Regions from separate parts of the Homo sapiens genome. Here region 2 is linked to region 1. The links are contacts of gene promoters, found by promoter capture Hi-C in blood cells and fetal thymus (Javierre and others, 2016). All regions are on one chromosome and are shown on one strand. Each heading gives the region's core, a stretch centred on a gene start or on the middle of the fragment in contact. The rest is flanking DNA. Distances are from core to core; before and after follow the strand shown. Region 1 holds the start of SMIM47 (small integral membrane protein 47). Region 2 holds the start of KLK2 (kallikrein related peptidase 2).

Region 1 (4,706 bases), core at 1,191-3,690:
CAATTTCTGGCTGAGAAAATAGTGCAACACCGCCACTATGTGGTTATTTGGAGTTTTGCAGCCAAGAATTTGAAAGTAAAGCCAGCCTCCAAATCGGGAAGCTTTTGAGAACTTCAGGAGGGCACTATTGCCACTGACGCTAAAACATTAGCCTAAAATGTTGGTGATCCACAAAACTTCTATTAATTCGAGATAAAATTATAGTGCAACTATGAATGTTTATTACTGAAATTTGGGGCCAAGCGCGGTGGCTCACACCTGTAATCCCAGCACTTTGAGAGGCCGAGGCGGGCAGATCACTAAGTTAGGAGTTCAAGACCAGCCTGGCCAACATAATGAAACCCTGTCTCTACAAAAAATGCAAAACTTAGCCAGGCGTGGTGGCGGGTGCCTATAGTCCCAGCTACTTGGGAGGCTGAGGTAGGATAATTGCTTGAACCTGGGAGGTGGAGGTTGCAGTGGGCCGAGATCGCGCTAGTGCACTCCAGCCTGAGTTTAACAGAGCGAGACTCCATCTCAAATAAAATACAATAAAATAAAAAGAAATTGGTGAGGCCGGGCACAGTGGCTCATGCCTGTAATCCCAGTACTTTGGGAGGCTGGGGCAGGTGGATCACCTGACGTTGGGAGTTCGAGACCAGCCTGACCAACATGGAGAAACCCCATCTCTACTAAAAATACAAAATTAGCCAGGCGTGGTGGCGCATGCCTGTAATCCCAGCTACTCGGGAGGCTGAGGCAGGAAAATTGCTTGAACCCAGGAGGTGGAGGTTGCAGTGAGCTGAGATTGCACTGTTGCACTCCAGCCTGGGCAACAAGAGCAAAACTCTGGGAAGAAGGAAGGAAGGAAGGAAGGAAGGAAGGAAGGAAGGAAGGGAGGGATGGAAGGAAATTTGTTGGGCTTTTTCAGGAAAACCTAGCACGTGCAGTCAACCCTACTCCAAAGCTGGCTTTTCAGATATTGAGCTGAAATGAAATTGCTTTTGACTAGATGAGAAGGTAGGTGAAATGCAATTGAAGGTGGAAGTGTCCCCCAGGGCATTGACCTGAGGATGCTGGAGGTAGAGGCAGGGGGTGGGGGAAGGGCGCTAAGCAAGGGGGCTGCTAGCGAACTGCCTGTGGGGGCGGGTCTGCACATTTTTATAGGAAGGGACATTGCTGGTGGGTGTTGAAGGTTAAATAGGAGTTTGTTAAGAAAAGAGGCTGAGCACAGTGGCTCACACCTGTAATTCCAACACTTTGGGAGGCTGAGGTAGGAGGATTGCTTGAGGCCAGGAGTTAGAGACCAGCTTGGGTGACATAGTGAGACCCTGTCTCTAAAAAAAATTAAAAAGTTAGCTGGGCATGGTGGTGAACACCTACAGTCCCAGCTACTCAGGAGGCTGAGGCAGGAGGACTGCTTGAGCCTGGGAGTTCAGGGTTGCAGTGAGCTATGATCATACCACTGCACTCTAGCCTGGGCAATAGAGTGAGATCTCATCTCAAAAAGAAAAGAAAAAAGAGGAAGATGTGTTGATACAGTATGACAGTGATGAAGATGATGACGATAACTACAGACCCACTGCAGCTGACAAAGTGCATTCACATTTTGGATCTCTGGCTGCCCTGGCTGTGGTTTTTTGGGGCCCATTGGACAAAGATTTTCGCCTTTGTCTGATGGAGAAGAAATCACGGGATCAAGGGAAATAACAAATCCGAAGTACACAGCAGCCTGTGTTGGTGCCGGGTGCTCAATGTGCCCTGCTTGTTCTTCCCTCTGTGCCCTTACACCAGGTTGAAATGTTCTTCCTCTTCTTGGAATTTCCCCACAGACTCCTACTCATCCCTGAAAACCCAGCGCAGATTCCCAGCTCCTAGCCTCAAACCTGCGAGGGTGGGTCCTCACCACTCTCCTACCTCAGACCCTGGAGTCCGGACCCCCACCCCACTCCCTTCTGAAACACAGAGCCCCAGGTGTGGTGTAGGCCCGAGGCCGGGCGCAAGGGCAGTGGGTCGGCGGAGCAGGATGTGCGGATTCAGTTACATTTATCTGGCCTCAGAGCGATGGCAGAGGGAGAGGCAGGGCTCTTGTGCGGGGAGGTCCTGTGTCTTCTCACTGCTGAGCCTGAGAGAGGAAAACAGGGACATATACAGAGATGTGGGAGAGAAAGAGAGACCAAGATGACAGAACTGGACCAGGGAGACAGAGACTCAGCCCCCACCTCCGCTCTTCTCCCGCTCACCTTGTTGAAGAAATAGATGGAGGTCAGGATGGTGAACAAGGCCATGGCCAGGGTCACATTCTGGGGGGGAGATCAGAGGTCAGGACCCTTCCCCTCCCTGCCCTCTGCCCAGCCCCAGGCCTCCCTTCCCTGCCAGACCCCTCCTCACTTCCTGAAAGTTCATGGCCTTGGGACTCCAGCCACCCCTTGGTTGGTCTTCTCTCTCTTTCCTGGGCCTCTGAGCCAGAGGGGGGAGAAGCCACTGGAACTCCGAGAGGGGGTTGTCGGAGAGACCAGAATGGTGGCCATGGCAACGGGGAAAGGGCATTCTGGTAGAGGGGACAGGCAGGGGCATAGGGCAGATACAGACCCTGGTGTGGCCCGCCACATGTGGTGTCTGAATGTGACATCGGGACGTGTGAGATTGGAGAGTCTCAACCCTGAACACCATACTGAGGTGTTTGGGTTTTGCCCCGGAGGGTGCTGGGGAGCCATGAGAGGGTTGAGAGCAGGGGAGGGACCAGGTCAGTTCTGGGTATAGAAATATCTCAAAACAGGAGCCTGCAGGCCAGGAGAACAGTAAGGGAGGCCCAGGCAAAATTTCCTCCTCCAGATGGGAGGATCACTTGAGCCCAGGGGGTTGAGGCTGCCATGAGCCAAGATCACGCCACTGCACTCCAGCCTGGGCAAGAGTGAGATCCTGTCTCCACAACTAACAACTAAGAAAAAATAAAATAAAATACATATGATACATTTGTGAGATACCTATTTACCTATCTATCGCTACCACAAAAATGGGGACTATACAATCTGCTACTCAGGTAGCTATTTGCGTTATTTGTGGCAGATATAGTCTCGCTATTTTTGGTAGTTATGTTGTACAACTGTGAACACTTATTGGGGAAATATATGTGTGTGTGTGTATATGTATACACACACACACACACACACACACACACACACACACACAAACACATATATATAGGGTTGGGTGCAGTGGCTCATGCTTGTAATCCCAACACTTTGGTTAAGTGAGACAGTAGAATTGCTTGAGCCCAGGAGTTCAAGGCCAGCCTGGGCAACATTGTAAGACCCCATCTCTTTAAATATATATAAATATAGGCCAGGTGCCGGTGGCTCACACCTGTTTTCCCAACACTTTGGGAGGCCGGGGCGGGAGGATCACCTGAGGTCAGGAGTTTGAGACCAGCCTGGCCAACATGGCGAAACTCCATCTCTACTAAAAAACAAAAAAACAAAAAAATTAGCCGGGCATGGTGGTGCACGCCTGTAGTCCCAGCTATTTGGGAGGCTGAGGCACCAGCAACACTTGAACCCCAGGCGGAGGAGGTTAAATTGAGCCGAGATTGTGCCACTGCACTCTAGCCTGGGCAACAGAGCGAGACTCCATCTCAAAATAATAATAATAAATAAAAATAAATAAATAAATAGAAAATAAATAGAAAAATATATACTTTTATTAATGAAGCAATGGGTCCTTATTTGCTGATTCAGTGGTCACAGTTATACAACATCGCTACTATGAATAACAAGAATTGATTGTAAACACGGTACCTCACGGCACTACCCAGAACATTCCAGAAGGCAACACATTCTGCAGAGCAAACGGCACCGTCTCTCCAACAAATCCATGCCACAGTGCAAAACAAAAGCAAGTAGCCTTGCTATATTTGAAAAAAATCCGTTAAGAGACACAAGACCAGCTTTGAGGGGTGATCCTGGACCGGGTTTTGGCTTGGACAAAACAAGTTATAAAGGCTCTTTGTGGGTGGAGGCCGAGGTGGGCGGATCACCTGAGGTCAGGAGTTTGAGACCAGCCTGGCCAACATGGTGAAACCCTGTCTCTACTAAAAATACAAAAATTAGCCAGGTGCAGTGGTGTGCACCTATAGTCCCAGCTACTCAGGAGGCTCAGGCACGAGAATCATCAGAACCCAGGAGGCAGAGGTTGCAGTGAGCCGAGATCGTACCACAGCACACCAGCCTGTGTGACAGAGTGAGATCCTGTCTCAAAAAACAAAACAAGACAAAGTCTCTTTGGGGAGAAACGGAGGGACATTTGAATAGGGAATGGGTATCAGACAAGACGAAAGCACTACTGCCAAGGAGAAGAGGAGGTTAACTGAAAGACGCAGGTTACAAAATTGCAGGTTCTGTATGATCTCATTTTGGTAAGAAGTACATACATGAAAAACTGCATTTAAACATCAGGTTTCACTCTGTCGTCCAGGATGGAGTGGAGTGACAGAATCAGGGCTCACTGCAGCCTCGACTTCAGGCTCAAGCGATGAGTGGCTGGGACTACAGGCATATGCCACTACACCTGGCCAGTTTTTTGGTATTTTTAGTAGAGATGGGGTTTCACCATGTTGCCCAAGCTGGTCTCAAACTCCTGGATTCAAGTGATCTGCCCACCTTGGCCTCCCAAAATGACAGGATTACAGGTGTCAGCCACCATGCCTGGCCCAGTTATATTGATTTTAG
Region 2 (4,657 bases), core at 715-3,214, 87 kb after region 1:
GTTAAATTGGTTTGGGTCAGGTTTTGGTTGAGGTTATCATGGGGATGAGGATATGCTTGGGACACTGGATTCAGGTGGTTCTCATTCAAGCTGAGGCAAATTTCCTTTCAGACGGTCATTCCAGGGAACGAGTGGTTGTGTGGGGGAAATCAGGCCACTGGCTGTGAATATCCCTCTATCCTGGTCTTGAATTGTGATTATCTATGTCCACTTCTGTCTCCTTCACTGTACTTGGAATTGATCTGGTCATTCAGCTGGAAATGGGGGAAGATTTTGTCAAATTCTTGAGACACAGCTGGGTCTGGATCAGCGTAAGCTGCTCTGGTTTTATTGAACAGATGAAATCACATTTTTTTTTTCAAAATCAAAGAAATCTTATAGAGTTAACAGTGGACTCTTATAATAAGAGTTAACACCAGGACTCTTATTCTTGATTCTTTTCTGAGACACCAAAATGAGATTTCTCAATGCCACCCTAATTCTTTTTTTTTTTTTTTTTTTTTTTGAGACACAGTCTGGGTCTTTTGCTCTGTCACTCAGGCTGGAGCGCAGTGGTGTGATCATAGCTCACTGAACCCTTGACCTCCTGGACTTAAGGGATCCTCCTGCTTCAGCCTCCTGAGTAGATGGGGCTACAGGTGCTTGCCACCACACCTGGCTAATTAAATTTTTTTTTTTTTTTTGTAGAGAAAGGGTCTCACTTTGTTGCCCTGGCTGATCTTGAACTTCTGACTTCAAGTGATTCTTCAGCCTTGGACTCCCAAAGCACTGGGATTGCTGGCATGAGCCACTCACCGTGCCTGGCTTGCAGCTTAATCTTGGAGTGTATAAACCTGGCTCCTGATAGCTAGACATTTCAGTGAGAAGGAGGCATTGGATTTTGCATGAGGACAATTCTGACCTAGGAGGGCAGGTCAACAGGAATCCCCGCTGTACCTGTACGTTGTACAGGCATGGAGAATGAGGAGTGAGGAGCCACCGGAACCCCATATTGTTTAGTGGACATTGGATTTTGAAATAATAGGGAACTTGGTCTGGGAGAGTCATATTTCTGGATTGGACAATATGTGGTATCACAAGGTTTTATGATGAGGGAGAAATGTATGTGGGGAACCATTTTCTGAGTGTGGAAGTGCAAGAATCAGAGAGTACTGAATGCCAACGCTTCTATTTCAGGAACATGGTAAGTTGGAGGTCCAGCTTCTGGGCTCAGACGGGTATAGGGACCAGGAAGTCTCACAATCCGATCATTCTGATATTTCAGGGCATATTAGGTTTGGGGTGCAAAGGAAGTACTTGGGACTTAGGCACATGAGACTTTGTATTGAAAATCAATGATTGGGGCTGGCCGTGGTGGCTCACGCCTGTAATCTCATCACTTTGGGAGACCGAAGTGGGAGGATGGCTTGAGCCCAGGAGTTGGAGACCAGCCTAGGCAACATAGCCAGACCCTCTCTCTACAAAAAAATTAAAAATTAGCTGGATGTGGTGGTGCATGCTTGTGGTCTCAGCTATCCTGGAGGCTGAGACAGGAGAATCGGTTGAGTCTGGGAGTTCAAGGCTACAGGGAGCTGCGATCACGCCGCTGCACTCCAGCCTGGGAAACAGAGTGAGACTGTCTCAGAATTTTTTTAAAAAAGAATCAGTGATCATCCCAACCCCTGTTGCTGTTCATCCTGAGCCTGCCTTCTCTGGCTTTGTTCCCTAGATCACATCTCCATGATCCATAGGCCCTGCCCAATCTGACCTCACACCGTGGGAATGCCTCCAGACTGATCTAGTATGTGTGGAACAGCAAGTGCTGGCTCTCCCTCCCCTTCCACAGCTCTGGGTGTGGGAGGGGGTTGTCCAGCCTCCAGCAGCATGGGGAGGGCCTTGGTCAGCATCTAGGTGCCAACAGGGCAAGGGCGGGGTCCTGGAGAATGAAGGCTTTATAGGGCTCCTCAGGGAGGCCCCCCAGCCCCAAACTCACCACCTGGCCGTGGACACCTGTGTCAGCATGTGGGACCTGGTTCTCTCCATCGCCTTGTCTGTGGGGTGCACTGGTGAGATTGGGGGGATAAAGGAAGGGGGGCGGGTTCTGACTCTTATGCTGAAGCCCTTTTCCTCCCACCCAGTGCCCCAGCCTCGTCCCTTCAGCCCACAGTTCAGCCCAGACAATGTGCCCCTGACTCTTCCACATTGCAATAGTCCTCATGCCCACACTAGGTCCCCGCTCCCTCCCACTTACCTCAGACCTTTCTCTCCATTGCCCAGCCAAATCCCTGCTCCCAGCTGCTTTACTAAAGAGCAAGTTCCTGGGCATCTCTGTGTTTCTCTTTATGGGGTTCAAAACCTTTCAAGGACCTCTCTCCATGCCACTGGTTCCTTGGACCCTATCACTGGGCTGCCTCCTGAGCCCCTCAGTCCTACCACAGTCTACTGACTTTTCCTATTCAGCTGTGAGCATTCAACCCTGTCCCCTGGACCTTGACACCTGGCTCCCCAACCCTGTCCCAGGAAACCCAGATTCCACCAGACACTTCCTTCTTCCCCCCGAGGCTATCTGGCCTGAGACAACAAATGCTGCCTCCCACCCTGAGTCTGGCACTGGGACTTTCAGAACTCCTCCTTCCCTGACTCTTTGCCCCAGACCCGTCATTCAATGGCTAGCTTTTTCCATGGGAAAAACACGAGCACCCCCAACCACAACGGCCAGTTCTCTGATTCCCTAAATCCGCACCCTTTTCAAAACCTCAAAAACAAAACAAAACAAAACAAAGCAAGAAACAACTCAGGCAGAACTGTTTGCTTAACCTTGGACATGGTAAACCATCCAAAACCTTCCTCTCCCAGCAACTAAACCTCTCCACTGGGCACTTATCCTTGGTTTCTGGAACCTCTTATTCTCTTAGAACCCACAGCTGCCACCACAGTGTCCCTTCTCCCAGTGTAAGACCCCAAATCACTCCAAATGACCCAACCCCCAACCCGATGCCTGCTTCAGATGTTTCCCATGTCCCCTACTCTGATCTCTGGGGTCAGCTCCGTTCTCAGAGCATGAAGCCTCCCGACCTGGTCCAGCCACCAACCCGCTAACGCAGGGAATAGCTACAGAATTGCCAGCCCTCCCAGGACCCCTTGCTTGTGTCCTGGACTCCCAGTCCTGGTCCTCTGCCCCCATGTCTCTTCAAACCCACAGCTCAGCTCCCTCCCCTATCCAATTCTTTTGGGTCTGATCCCCCTGACCCAGCACCCCCTCCGCAGGTGCCGTGCCCCTCATCCAGTCTCGGATTGTGGGAGGCTGGGAGTGTGAGAAGCATTCCCAACCCTGGCAGGTGGCTGTGTACAGTCATGGATGGGCACACTGTGGGGGTGTCCTGGTGCACCCCCAGTGGGTGCTCACAGCTGCCCATTGCCTAAAGAAGTAAGTAGGACCCTGGGATCTGGGGAGGGAATGGCTGTGTCCCACAGGAATAACAGCGGGATGCTTCCCCCAGGGTCACTTCTCAGGTGAGGCTTCAGACTAAAGGAGAGAGGGAAGGTCCTGGCCCAGGTCGCACCCGGAGGCAGAGCTGGGGCTGGACCACTCTCCCCATGGCTGCCTGGGTTTCTCTCTGTGTCTGATCTCGCTGTGTCTCTTGGTATCTGGCTCTGGTTGTGTCTGTATGACTGTGTTTTGGTCTCTATGTCCCTCTCTCTTTTCTGTCTCCCTGTGTCTGTGTCTCCCCCGTCTCTGTCTCTGGGTCTCTCTGTGGCCATCTCTGTCACCGTGTGTCTCACCCTGCATCTCTTTGCCTGTCTTTCTCTCTGGGTCTCTGCCTCAGCCCTTCCTCATCACTACTGAACACACCCCGTGAGGGTGGGTGGGGAGCACCCAGAAAAAGGAAGGACTTTAAGCTCAATGTGTGTGCATGTGAGGGGGTGCCTGTCATTGCACAGCACTCTCTGCAGGACATCCCTCCACCCTGGGGAGACACAGGGAGGGCTGGTTTCAGCTGTAGCTGGGTGCACAATTGAGGAGGGAGGAAGGAGAAGGGGAAACAAGAAAGGAGGGGAAGGTGGCCGGGCACGGTGGCCCACGCCTGTAATCCCAGCACTTTGGGAGGCCGAGGTGGGTGGATCATCTGAGGTCAGGAGTTTGAAACCAGCCTGGCCAACATGGCAAAACCCCGTCTCTACTAAAAATACAAAAAGTAGCCAGGCGTGGTGCTGCGCGCCTGTAATCCCAATTACTAGGGAGGCTGAGGCAGGAGAATCGCTTGAACCCGGGAGGGAGAGGTTGCAGTGAGCCGAGATCGTGCCACTGCACTCCAGCCTGGGTGACAGAGCAAGACTCCATCTCAGAAAAAACAAACAAACAAACAAACAACAAAAAAAATCGAAAGGAGGGGAAGGGAGCTGGAGAGAGAAAGGGGGACGTGGCCCTGAGCTGTGGGCCGGGCCACCCGCCACTACAGAGCCCTCACTCCAGCCCCAGCTGCAGGTGAGCCACCCTCATGCCTCTCCTCCTCCCCCTGCTACTCCACACTCCTCAGATGCCCCCGTGGCCTCCCTCCTTTTTCTCTCCCACACTGTATCACCCCTGGCTTCCTCTCTGCTGTTTCTCCTTCTCTCTCTGACTTCCCGCATCCTTTTCTCATTTGTCTATTTCTCACTCCCTTCCTGGTTCTGTTCT

What was found. Contacts are between HindIII fragments. The CHiCAGO score rates a contact against its expected background, and 5 or more counts as called.
Region 2: a contact is called between the fragment with the promoter of KLK2 here and the fragment with the promoter of SMIM47 in region 1, in 3 of 17 cell types (erythroblasts, M0 macrophages and activated CD4 T cells). The highest score is 5.3, in erythroblasts.

The regions. Positions count from the first base shown.
Region 1 is chr19:50,783,720-50,788,425 of GRCh38, forward strand. It overlaps SMIM47 (small integral membrane protein 47), which reads right to left and starts at 2,441. Exons shown (of 3, transcript NM_001384597.1): 1 at 2,371-2,441; 2 at 2,223-2,282; 3 at 2,009-2,104. The coding sequence starts at 2,385. The coding sequence ends at 2,093. It overlaps LOC105372439 (a long non-coding RNA gene), which reads right to left. Exons shown (of 4, transcript XR_936026.3): 4 at 3,662-4,706. RefSeq lists a silencer at 1-187. The HindIII fragment of the contact is 13,889 bases long and covers 100-4,706 here.
Region 2 is chr19:50,871,475-50,876,131 of GRCh38, forward strand. It overlaps KLK2 (kallikrein related peptidase 2), which reads left to right and starts at 1,965. Exons shown (of 5, transcript NM_005551.5): 1 at 1,965-2,045; 2 at 3,247-3,406. The coding sequence starts at 2,000. RefSeq lists promoters at 1-1,990, 1,365-1,990, 1,637-1,990, an enhancer at 1,789-1,803 and a cis regulatory region at 1,789-1,803. The HindIII fragment of the contact is 10,018 bases long and covers 1-4,657 here.